Regions from separate parts of the Homo sapiens genome. Here all the other regions are linked to region 3. Evidence: promoter capture Hi-C in human tissues and cell types (Jung and others, 2019). All regions are on one chromosome and are shown on one strand. Each heading gives the region's core, a stretch centred on a gene start or on the middle of the fragment in contact. The rest is flanking DNA. Distances are from core to core; before and after follow the strand shown.

Region 1 (2,736 bases), core at 199-2,698, 800 kb before region 3:
ACTAAAAATACAAAAATTAGCTGGGCGTGGTGGTGCGCCCCTGTGGTCCCAGCTACTCGGGAGGCTGAGGCAGGAGAATCGCTTGAACCCGGGAGGCGGAGGTTGCAGTGAGCCGAGATGGCGCCACTGCGCTCCAGCCTGGGCGAGAGTGAGACTTCGTCTCAAAATAAATAACTAAATAAAGACCAATAACTGTTTCCCATAGGGTTATGTAGTTGCAAATGAAAAAATTACTGGCATGTACTGCCTCTGCATATGAAGCATAATTTTGTCAAGACCTTATACCTGCAGATTTAGCTCTTTCGATTAACGGAAAATGTCCAAAATCAGTCTCCTCCAACCTATTTGCCGAACTGGACTTACTGTCGCTGAGTAGACCGACCGACATAGCTTACACGTTGTTCAGCTCGCTTGTAAGCAAACACACGAAACCACCTCACCCCTGACTTCAGAAAGAAGCCGTCCCGTGAATTCCTCACAGATGAAATCAGGAGCTGCCCCTCAAGGACTCTATTTCTTCCTTCGGCTCTATCAAATATTTTAAGGTACTTCCCAGCAACGGAAACATGGGACCCTGCAATGACAGACTTCGCATTCCTCCTGAGCGGACAGGCAATAAGCAAGTAAACGCGCAAATACCCAAGTGCGGCCTCAACCCGCGCTCCTGCCGGGAGGGTCTCCAGTCACCGAGTAACCCCGGCCCTGCCCCGCGCCGCCGCCGGGACTCCGCCCCGCAAGCAAGTGGGGTCTCCTTTGTCCCGCGCGCCCTGGCCGCGTCCCGCCCTTCGGCGTAGCCCATGGGAGGCGCCCTGAGGGCAGGGCCCTTCTGATTCCCCACCTGGCCTCGAGTGAGGACGCGCTCAACAACATCTCGAGTAAAGCGGGGGAACTCGCTTCAACGCGCAGACAGCACAGCTCTCGCCCAGCCCGGTCTCGGGTCAGCCGTCTCTCCCTGGACCTCAGGGACACTAGCCCTGGAAGGCCGCCGGTCGGGAGGGGACTCCCTCCCCGTCTGAGGGGCGGCCGCGGACACCCGGCGCCTTTCCCCCGCCCCACCCCGTGCGGCCTCACGCAAACGACAGGAAAAAAGCTGGGACCTTCGCCTCCGACTCAGTGTAGACGTCGCCATCCCGGTTCCAGATTTCCGCGCTCCAACGCCTCCGCAGCAGCCATCTTGCCAGAGGGCCGACGCCTTTTGACTCTGGCGCCAACCCGTAGTGCGTGGTCGCCGCGAGGGGAGTTCTGCGCAAGTACGGAAGCTGAGGTTCCGCGCTTCCGGGAGGCCGTCCGCCCCGCCCCCTCGCGGGGGCGCTTCATTGGTCATCGGCTCGCGCTCTCGCGCTCTCTTGCTGTCGCGAGAGGTGCTGAGGGGCGGCCTCCGGTGCGCCTGCCCTCCCGCTCCCCGCCCCCGCCCCCGCCCCCGCCTCCGCCGCGGCCCCCACCTCTGCCTCCTTCTACTCGGGCGCCCCGGCGGCCGCCACCTCTCCCCAGCCCAGGAGAGGCTGCGGAGCCGCAGCCGCCCAGACCGCGCAGCGCGGGAGGCAGGTTCCGCACGGTAAGATGGCGGCGGCGGGCCCGGGCGGCCGGGCCGAGCGTCTCCCGGGGCCGGGCCGGGCGGGCAGGCGGGATGTGGCCGGGGTGCGCGCCGCCCCCGCTCTGGGGGCCTTGGAAGCGCCGGCGCTGGCAGGTGCGGAATTGGGGCGCGCAGTGAGTCCAGGCCCGGACGGCCGCCCCGCGCCGGTGCCCAGGGGGCAGTCAGGGCTCAGCCTCCAGGCGCGCGGCCTCAGGCGCTGGTGTTCTGGGGCGGTCCCGGCCAGCCTGAGGGGCGGCGGTAGCTGTCTCTGTGGAGGAGCGACGTCCGTAACGAAGTCTTTTTAATAAAATCTGCTGCTTTAAAGCAGAAACCGAGCGGGTGAGGATGTAAAGTGTGGCATGGAAAGTAGGAGTCTTCAGCACACGGGTGTTTTCTTCTGCTGAATCTTTTTATGCTGGAGTTTGAGACTACCGAGTTCTTCCTGCTAACAGGACTGGCCAGTTCTACAAAGTTGTTGCTTTTCATGGGCGCACGTAACTGCCCGGAGTGGAAGCGCTGTGAGTGCCGATCACCGAATGGGCCGAGAGAAAAGGTGCCTTTTCCTAGGGAGCTCTTAACGTTGGTCCTAGGGCCGGGCGCGGTGGCGGAGGTCGAAGTGGGCGGATCACTTGAGCCCGCGAGTTCGAGACCAGCCGTGGCAACAGCGAGACTCCCTTCTCTGCTAAAAATAAAAAAATTAGCCAGGCAGAGTGGTGCGCTCCTGTTGTCCCAGTTACTCTGGAGGCTGAGGTGGGAGGATCGCTTGAGCCCAGGAGGTCGAGGCTGCGGTGAGCCATGATCGCGCCACTGCCCTCCAGCCTGGGCGACAGAGCGAGGCTCTGTCTCAAAAAAAAAAGAAAAAGAAAATGAGTCCTTAAGTTACCATTAATTGTCGTGAATAAAAAGTTGGTCTCAGTGAGTTTTGCAGTTGACAACGAAAGATGGGTGTTCGTGTGTGACAGCGACTCCTGGTTTCTCCTCCACTTTACCTGCCGCTCCACATCAAGTTTTCTTCTGCTGGTGCCACTTTCTCTGCTTTACCTTCAAGGTTGGCATCCTCCAAGTAATGGCGATTCTCATTCCCTATCTACGCTCTTCCTATGGTCTTTGCTGAATTCTTGGCTTTAAATATCCCTGTGCCCCAGCACCGCCCCCCCCGCCCC
Region 2 (2,758 bases), core at 8-2,507, 540 kb before region 3:
TGGGCAGATCACTTGAGGTCAAGAGATCGAGACCAGCCTGGCCAACATGGTGAAACCCTATCTCTACTAAAAATACAAAATTTAGCTGGGTGCAGTGGTGGGCGCCTATGATCCCAGCTACTTGGGAGGCTGAGGCAGGAAAATGGCCTGAACCTCGGAGGTTGAGGTTGCAGTGAGCCAAAATTGCACTACTGCACTCCAGCCTGGCTGACGGTGAGATTGGCTCAAAAAAAAAAAAGCTATTTGAAATTCCACCAAACATTAACAAACCAGGTTCTCATTTGTCACTTTCAATAAAATGAATTAATGTTAACACTGACCCATATGGGCCCAGAGTTCTCCAGCTTGGCTAACAGTTTAGGGGAGGGTTACCAAGTTCCTTCCAATGATGCTCCACCAGCGGCTCTGTTGGACTCGCCTTGGAGCACCCAGTGGTTTGAGGAACACTTGGATCTTGCCTGCAGGCAGATGCCCACAGACCCTGCAGGCCGCTTACCAAGATGCTTAACCCATAACCCGACACACAAAAGCAGTTATCTAGATCAAGTTTTTATAATGCAAGTTGTAGGACACTAGAGTTTTAAAAACACCAACCAGGTCAGGAGTCCGCACACTTTATGAAAACCCAAGTATTACGGTATTTAAGAAGAAAAACTGTGCGCGCACACACACACAGCCAGCTTCCAGTTTAGCCAGCTAAGGACCTAAAGCTTCATTAGCAATTATCCCTGCAACTTTAGCAATTCAGTATTCATTTTATACCTAAAAGTCTGTAATCCGAGCTATTGTCTGTAATCCCAGCTACCTGGAAGGCTAAGGCAGGACAATCACTCGAACCCAGGAGGTGGAGGTTGCAGTGAGCCGAGATTGCGCCACTGCACTCCAGCCTGGGCAACAGAGCAAAACTCCATTTAAAAAAAAAAAAAAGACCTAAAACACAGAATTTCAGTAACTAATTCAGAATTCAGTAACTGGAAATAAATGACATCCACTTCTTTTCTCACAAAAGAGAGGGACTGATACTTTTCCAAAGTTCTACAAGCCCCAAGTTGTTCAGGACTTGCATAATGTAAGACTGCAGACAGTGCAGGCGGCTCTACTCTATACATCCCTATATATGCCATGTACACGCCTTTCTGCCCAAAATACATTAGGACACTTGGTGCTCACAGGTGAATAATTCCTTTAACATAGAGAACTGAAAAAAACACTGAAAACCCATCTATTATCAACTGACATTTCAGGAAGGGATATTTTTTAAAAAGCAGGAGAGAATCTCAGGATGAACTCTCTCGAATAAAGGAAGCATTATGAAGTATGTCAGCATCATCATTTTCCCATTGCTGGTGCCAGTTTACGGGCATCTGAGCCCTTCTGAAGAGCAAACACACTCAATCCCGTCAGACATCACATGACAGCACAGACTCAGGAGTTTGGCTACAAGTATCCCAGGAAATCAGGACTGTCTCAAAAAGGCCCAGTCAATGAATTTTTGATATAGGATCCATATTTGTCATTATAAAATGTCTGGATTCCAAACCTACCCCACCACCACCATTTTCTTTACGACCTAGATGGAGTGAGTTTGTTTCCAAAAACTGCAGGATACTGGGTTTTTAAAAGAAAAATAAAGCAACGACCTCCAGATCAAAGACCAGAGATTCCCAACTACTGAGGGACAGTGCCCTGGGAAGCAAGGGCCCTTGGCCAGGTGGGGTCTCGATGCCCTACGTGCCCACCGCAGTGCTTCGTGAATATCACCTAAGTGTTCCTCATGGACGGAGGCTGGGAAGCACTGTTCCAGAAAGTATCACAATTCAAAAAGGAGAGGAGAAAGTTACCCTCAAATTCTTTGTAACAGAAAAACAGAATGTGTACACTGTGGTCCCAATTATTCAATTATAATTGGAAAGTGATCAAAGTCGTTCGGTGACATCTACCCAAATACCATCACTGGTTACTAGCAGTACTCTCCGCAGGGAAAGCCCACGAGGCTGCCAGGACCTGGGCCCGCCCACCTGCGGCCAACTGGGAGCTGCCTGTCACGAGACTCAGCTCGGCGGACCTGCCGCATCTGCTCACCACCGGGCCACCTGGTCTAAGTACGGCACCAAGGACACATCTGCATGGCAGTTGCCTGCAACACCCAGCCTCACCTTGCGCACCACCTCCTCCTCCTCCTGGCGCTTCTCGTAGTGAGCAAAGTCGTCGAAGATGGAGGTTGTGTGCTTGTAGGAACTGATAATTTTCAGCACTTGCTTGGCTTTTTCTAAGGGCACCTCCTGGGTGTCCCGGGAGTTTGTGACCGGTTTGTTGTCGTTATTCTCCAGCCTGATGTGCCGGAGCTGGTTATTGGGTACATCCTTAACAAAAATCCACTGGACATCAAACTTCCCCTTCCACTTGTCCTGAGACCAGACCCCGGCACTGGTGCCGTAGTCCACGGGGGACTTCATCTCGGCCACCCCACAAAAATGCCCACTCCCATTGACGCTGAAGAGCAGGTAGACGGGCCCCTTGCTGCTCATGCAGCGGAAGGCGCTGTCCAGGCGCTTGTTGCCGTGCTCTGTGCTACACCAGATGGAGTACTTAATGGAGCGGTGGATGTCGTCCTCAGAGTAGCTCTTGATGATGAACACACGCCCGCTTTTCAGATTCCACTCAAACTCTTTCGGGTTGTAGCTGTGAGCAGCCTTCAGTTTTTCAAGGACGGGGTGGGATTCGACGCTGGGGGCAGAATTAGGCTGGACGTTTCCAG
Region 3 (2,882 bases), core at 54-2,553:
CAATGAAAAGCTGCAAGGTCAGGCTCCTGGGGCCCTAGAAGCCGGGGCGGCCCCAGCGGGGAGGAGGAGCAAGGACATGTACCATGCCAGCAAGAGTGCCAAGCGGGCCCTGAGCCTGCGGCTCTTCCAGACTGAGGAGAAGATCGAGCGAACCCAGCGGGACATCAGGAGCATCCAGGAGGCTCTCGCCCGCAACGCTGGCCGGTACGTGTGGGGCCCAGCTCAGGGCAAAGGGCGACCCAGGGTGGCCCTGCCCCCGGGATACATGCTGGAGGTCACCTGACCCAAGCATAGCGGGCTGAGTCCAGGAGGGGTCTGCATGTTGGAGGACGGGCAGCGGGCACACAGGCAGTGGGTACGGCAGACTGGGGTTGGTGGCATGGCCCAGGACCCCACGCTGACTAGTGAGCCCCTCCGCAGGCATAGCGTGGCGTCAGCCCAGCTGCAGGAGAAGCTGGCAGGAGCCCAGCGCCAGCTGGGGCAGCTCCGGGCTCAGGAAGCCGGCCTGCAGCAGGAGCAGAGGAAGGCAGACACCCACAAGAAGATGACTGAGTTCTAGAGACCCCACAAGCACTATGGACGAAGCGTGGGACCCCAGCACGGGCTGCCCTCAGGAAGACCAGTGTTGCCCGAGGAGGGGCCGGCCTGCTGGCCTGGGGCGTGCAGACACTGCTGAGTGGAGACAGAGCTGCGGGGTCCCATCTGGACACTTACTTGCCCACCTGCCAGTGTCTTGGGCATTTCCTTGGCAAGGACATTAAAGTGATTTCATCACAGTGTCATTCAGTGGAGATCAGCTGGCTGCAGGGTCTCTGGGGAGAGAAGGGTCTGTGCAGGGCTGTGGTGAGAGACGGGCTGGGCTGGAGGGGCCTAGGAGGCCGGCATTCTCCCTTCTTACCCTTCTCTGACCAAGGCAGATCGGAGGCCAGGGTGCCCGCCAGGCTGCCTGACACCCACAGATGGGTGGAGCTCAGTGCTGCTCCAGCGGGCGAGACGGGCGGGAGAGGACTGTGGCCCACCACGTGGGGCACTCTTGGTGAGGCAGGCGGACCTGGCCCTGTGGGTTTGGGGGTTCTGTGCCAGCTCTGCTCACGTCTTCGTGTGTGGAGGGGTTGTGAGTTAGGCTGTCAGAACAGTGCGGGCTAGAGGCGCACACGTTTCATCTAGGCTTCGGGCGGGGCGCAGCAGGTGGGTGAGGCTGCGGTGGTGGCTGCTGCCCAGGGTGGGAGGCTCAGGGGAGGCGCTTGGCGACAGGAGCAGGAAGTGATGAGGTGGGGAGCTCAGCCGAGGGCTGCACAAAGACCTTCCTGGCCTGCCCCAGACAGAGCTGAGGACCCCTGGCCGTGGGCTTGGTAAGTGCCCTCCTGGGGGGCAGCTGGGGTCTGGGAGGCCTTGGGATGTGGCTGCAGCTGGGTCAGTCAGCCAGGCTGAAGCCCACTCCCTGGGTCTGAGCAGACTGGCCCCAAACTCCAGAGACCACCCCTCACCCCCCAGCTTCTGTCTCTGCTGCTGGACTGTGCTGTTTGTAAGGCATCCCCCACCCCGAGAAGTTCTGCTAAGATCCCCAAGAAGGGGACAGATCCTCTCTGGCAGAGACACTGGCAGACAAGAAGAGCCAGAGAGAAGTGGGGTGGGGGCATCAGCACCCCCAGCAGCTGCTGCTGCCTGCTGACCCAGCCTCCAGCTCCTCCGGGTGCAGGGTCCCTCCTGCTGACCAGCCTCCAGCTCTTCCCAGTTCTGGGCTCCGCAGCGAGCGGCTTGGGGGCACTACCTGACACAGGAGACCATGTCTGGGCAGAGGGTGGCTGCAGGTGGAGTCTGTGGCCTGTGGCGCACACCCAGGGGCTCCCCCGATGCTGGTTACTATCTGGGCTATGGTGGCCACAGCTGTCTTGCCCCTCCTCACGGCCGTGCTGGGTGTTACCGTGGTCACCCGCAGGGACACGGAGGGGCCAGGCAGAGCAGCCCTAGTTCACCTCACCGGGAGCCCCCGCCAGAAGGTGGGCACCTCTGGGAGGGAGGGACTGCCAGGCCTTGGGGCTTCCTGTGCTGAGTCAGAGCTGGAACGGGAGACGCAGGAGCCCCGCAGCCGCGGGAGGTGCAGATTTGGGGCTGCCAGGTGGCGCCAGGTCCCCTTGGCCAGCCCCCAGCGCCCCTTTCTTCTGTCCCCAGGGCCTCGGCTTCACAGGATGGGGCTGCCAGTGTCCTGGGCCCCTCCTGCCCTCTGGGTTCTAGGGTGCTGCGCCCTGCTCCTCTCGCTGTGGGCGCTGTGCACAGCCTGCCGCAGGTAGGTCCCTCAGCCGCGTTCTGTCTGGGGCCTCGCTGCGGCTGCCATTCACAGCCCAGCGCGGGAAGGGGCTGGAGGCAGGTCCGCGCACCCAGCTCGGCACGCGCGCCTGCACCGGGCCTTGGACCCGAGGCTGACGACCCCGCCCCCCGCCCCCCACCTCTACCCCCAAGGCCCGAGGACGCTGTAGCCCCCAGGAAGAGGGCGCGGAGGCAGCGGGCGAGGCTGCAGGGCAGTGCGACGGCGGCGGAAGCGGTGAGTGCCAGGCTGTCCCGGGGACCAGGGTGGGGTCCGCAGGGCACCGACCAGCCTTCCTCGCCCCCAGTCCCTACTGAGGCGGACCCACCTCTGCTCCCTCAGCAAGTCGGACACCAGACTGCACGAGCTGCACCGGGGCCCGCGCAGCAGCAGGGGTGAGCAGAGGGCGGGGCGGGGGCGGCCGGGCGGGGCTTACTGTGCAGCGCGTGCCAACCCCTGGGCCAGACCCGCTCCTGCCCCCTGCCCGGAGTGAACTCTGCCCTGACCCCACCCCCAGCCCTGCGGCCTGCCAGCATGGATCTCCTGCGCCCACACTGGCTGGAGGTGTCCAGGGACA
Region 4 (2,700 bases), core at 136-2,635, 820 kb before region 3:
CTTGCCTCACACAGATAGGTCTTTAGAATGGAGTATTGTAACCATCTTCACATAACTGGATGTTCACTGATACTACACCAACTCTCGCCAAGGAGCAGTTTCATAAAAGTTAGCTGAAACAGAATTTGCAGCCTTTGTCAAGGAACTTCTCCCTTTCTTTCATGAAAACTGACTGCTGTGTTCACTCTGAACACGTCCTTGCACTCTGGACCCATGTGCATGCTGTTCACCTGGATGACACGGGTTCAAGTAACAGACAGATTCTCAATGTCCACACATCTCATCGGATAGCATAAAACAAACATTTTTTTTCCTGTTGCCCAGGATGGAGTGCAGTGGTGCAATCAAGGATCACTGCAGCCTCAGCACCTCCCCCACCCACACCACCGCCAGGCTCAAAGCGGTCTTCCCACCTCACCCTCCCCAGTAGCTGGGACTACAGGTGCATGCCACCATGCCCAGGTAATTTTTGCATTTTTTTTTGTAGAGACAGGGTCTTACTATGTTGCCCAAGCTGGTCTCAAACTCCTGGGATCAAGTGATCTACCCACCTCCGCCTTCCAAAGTGCTGGGATTACAAGTGTGAGTCACCTCACCTGGCCGATAATGTCGGGTCCAATCTCCAAGAAGACTTTAATTACTAGAAAGCCATCAGGTTTACAATGGCAGATACAAGTTTTCTAAAATTCCAATTTTCACCCCAAAGCTCAAATTTTATCCTTAGCAACAAATACTGTTCGTTTTTTCTTTGAGACATCACTCGTTTTGGACAAAACGCCTGCCACATGCTGAGTCTGAAAACTGTCCTCCGTCTGTTGTTCTGTCAGGGACAGACAGCGTTTCCGAGACCACTCGGCTCCCAGCTCAATCCCCTAGGGCTGTGCGTGGACAGTACCACGTGGGGATGCAGCAGAAGCTTTATATATAACTTGACATTTAATCACAGCGAAAGTAAAAAAGATGTATGTTTGCGGGTTCCGAAAAAAATTAATATTTACTGCATCATCAGGGACATTATTTGGGAAAATTGGCATATTCTAAACATTCGGTGCCCATGCACGGTGCTGAAGAGGGCTCCAATCTGCCCTGTGCCACCGATGCAAATGTCAAACTCACCAGAAAAGGCCTGTACTATTAGACTATTATTATGCAGAAGTCATCTTTACCTCTTAGCCCCAGAAAGGGCTTCAAGGACTTCCCCCTCAGGAGTCCATGAAACACAAAGAACTGTGGCAACATGCCATTTCTACCAGTTTAGGAGTACACTGGATATGTGCAAAGCAGTAATACATACCTATGCTTCAGACATCAGAAGAGACTTTAAACATTTCCTTCCACAAGGGTTCTGTAACTACCTGTTAATCTTCCCTCAGATTCCCCAACTCACCAAAACAGTAAGCAGCCAAAAGTGAAATTTCTTAAAAACCAAATAAAAATATCTTCCCAAAAGGTCAGCTCTGTTACTTTAAAAAGCCTAACTGCAACTATTACAATGCATGGGTTTGCAACCACTGCAAATCTGTATGCTCAACTTTTACTACTCTAAAATCTGCTTGAAGTCATTAACTCAAGCGTGCCCACTTCCAGGTTGTGGTACAGCTGCATGATCAGGGCTCACTGCAGCCTCTACCTCATAGGTTCAAACGATCCTTCTGCCTCAACCTGAGTAGCTGGGACACCACTGGCGTGAGCCACAGTGCCCAGCTCCCACCTAAAGATTTTCAGTTCCAAAAACTTGAGACTAGTTTCTGAGTAATTAATCTCCAAGACACTTTAAAATATGACATACAACCATAATTAAGTTTCTATTTTCATAACATCGCACCTCCAGGAAAAGAGCTCTGACTTCTAAGCAAAAAGATAAAACAAAAATGCATAGTTTACCTCACCTAGTGGCAAACATTCTGTTTCTTCAAACCTCACATTCCCCTGAAACAATATTCAAAACAATTTTAACCCGCCAGTCAGAAATTATAATGCTACAATAAAACCTCACTATTCTAAACTTCATTATTTTCGCTAATTCTGACAGGGTAGGCCAAAGTTTACATTTATTTATATTTTGCCTATTAAGGGTCTCCTGGCTCATCAATCTGTTTATTATGCAGATGAGGAGCAACTGAGAAGACACTAGGTAAAAGATCTTTAAACTACCACAAATGAAGGAAAGATTACCCAATGAAAGACTCTTGATAGCTCAGTTTTCATTAATGCGACAGTCACTAGGAGAATATGCCTAGAAACTTCAGATGACATCCCCAAATGCGACGTGTTCTCCAGCCACCAGCAGCAGCCGTTCATGTACCATGATGGCCCACTCAAAGCTCCACCAGCTTGCGGCAGGAAACACTGTGCTGCACTCACCAAACAGGAAAGAGATTTGGGCCCACAAGGAACTGAAGAAGCCCAACTTTCATTTACTTTAGTATCTATGCAGAATCTGACTCAATTGCATAGATTACATTTAAATCCTTCAGACGGCAAATTCAAAGTTTTGCTGCTTACCAAATAATACCGTCATTACAAAAATTATTCTGGGCCGGGTGCGGTGGCTCATGCCTGCACTTCGGGAGGCTGAGGCAGGTGGATCACCTGAGGTCAGGAGTTTGAGACCAGCCTGGCCAACATGGTGAAATCCCCATCTCTACTAAAAACACAAAAATTAGCAGGGCTTGGTGGCAGGTGCCTGTAGTCCCAGCT

The links. The method cuts DNA at HindIII sites, captures the fragments that hold promoters and counts their contacts. A contact is called where the count stands out against the background at its distance.
Region 1: the fragment with the promoter of GID8 here is called in contact with the fragment with the promoter of LIME1 in region 3 in 1 of the 25 tissues and cell types used here (liver).
Region 2: a contact is called between a fragment that was not itself captured here and the fragment with the promoter of LIME1 in region 3, in 1 of the 25 tissues and cell types used here (liver).
Region 4: a fragment that was not itself captured here is called in contact with the fragment with the promoter of LIME1 in region 3 in 1 of the 25 tissues and cell types used here (lymphoblastoid cells).

Annotation. Positions count from the first base shown.
Region 1 is chr20:62,936,699-62,939,434 of GRCh38, forward strand. It overlaps GID8 (GID complex subunit 8 homolog), which reads left to right and starts at 1,449. Exons shown (of 5, transcript NM_017896.3): 1 at 1,449-1,555. It also overlaps a transcript of DIDO1 not described here. RefSeq lists silencers at 650-699, 970-1,019, 1,390-1,619, 1,690-1,819 and an enhancer at 1,515-2,183. The HindIII fragment of the contact is 10,021 bases long and covers 1-2,736 here.
Region 2 is chr20:63,200,131-63,202,888 of GRCh38, forward strand. YTHDF1 (YTH N6-methyladenosine RNA binding protein F1) reads right to left here. Exons shown (of 5, transcript NM_017798.4): 4 at 2,157-2,758. Among named protein-coding and RNA genes, the nearest start is that of YTHDF1, 15 kb to the right of the region's middle. RefSeq lists an enhancer at 1-392. The HindIII fragment of the contact is 5,570 bases long and covers 1-2,758 here.
Region 3 is chr20:63,735,361-63,738,242 of GRCh38, forward strand. LIME1 (Lck interacting transmembrane adaptor 1) reads left to right here and starts at 1,304. Exons shown (of 6, transcript NM_017806.4): 1 at 1,304-1,352; 2 at 2,173-2,287; 3 at 2,461-2,542; 4 at 2,613-2,700; 5 at 2,823-2,882. The coding sequence starts at 2,190. It overlaps ZGPAT (zinc finger CCCH-type and G-patch domain containing), which reads left to right. Exons shown (of 7, transcript NM_181485.3): 6 at 1-204; 7 at 421-782. The coding sequence ends at 559. RefSeq lists enhancers at 730-909, 1,489-2,405, 2,605-2,882 and silencers at 2,340-2,559, 2,630-2,779, 2,860-2,882. The HindIII fragment of the contact is 23,629 bases long and covers 1-2,882 here.
Region 4 is chr20:62,916,729-62,919,428 of GRCh38, forward strand. The region is part of intron 1 of DIDO1 (death inducer-obliterator 1); the gene reads right to left. Among named protein-coding and RNA genes, the nearest start is that of DIDO1, 8.4 kb to the right of the region's middle. The HindIII fragment of the contact is 9,356 bases long and covers 1-2,700 here.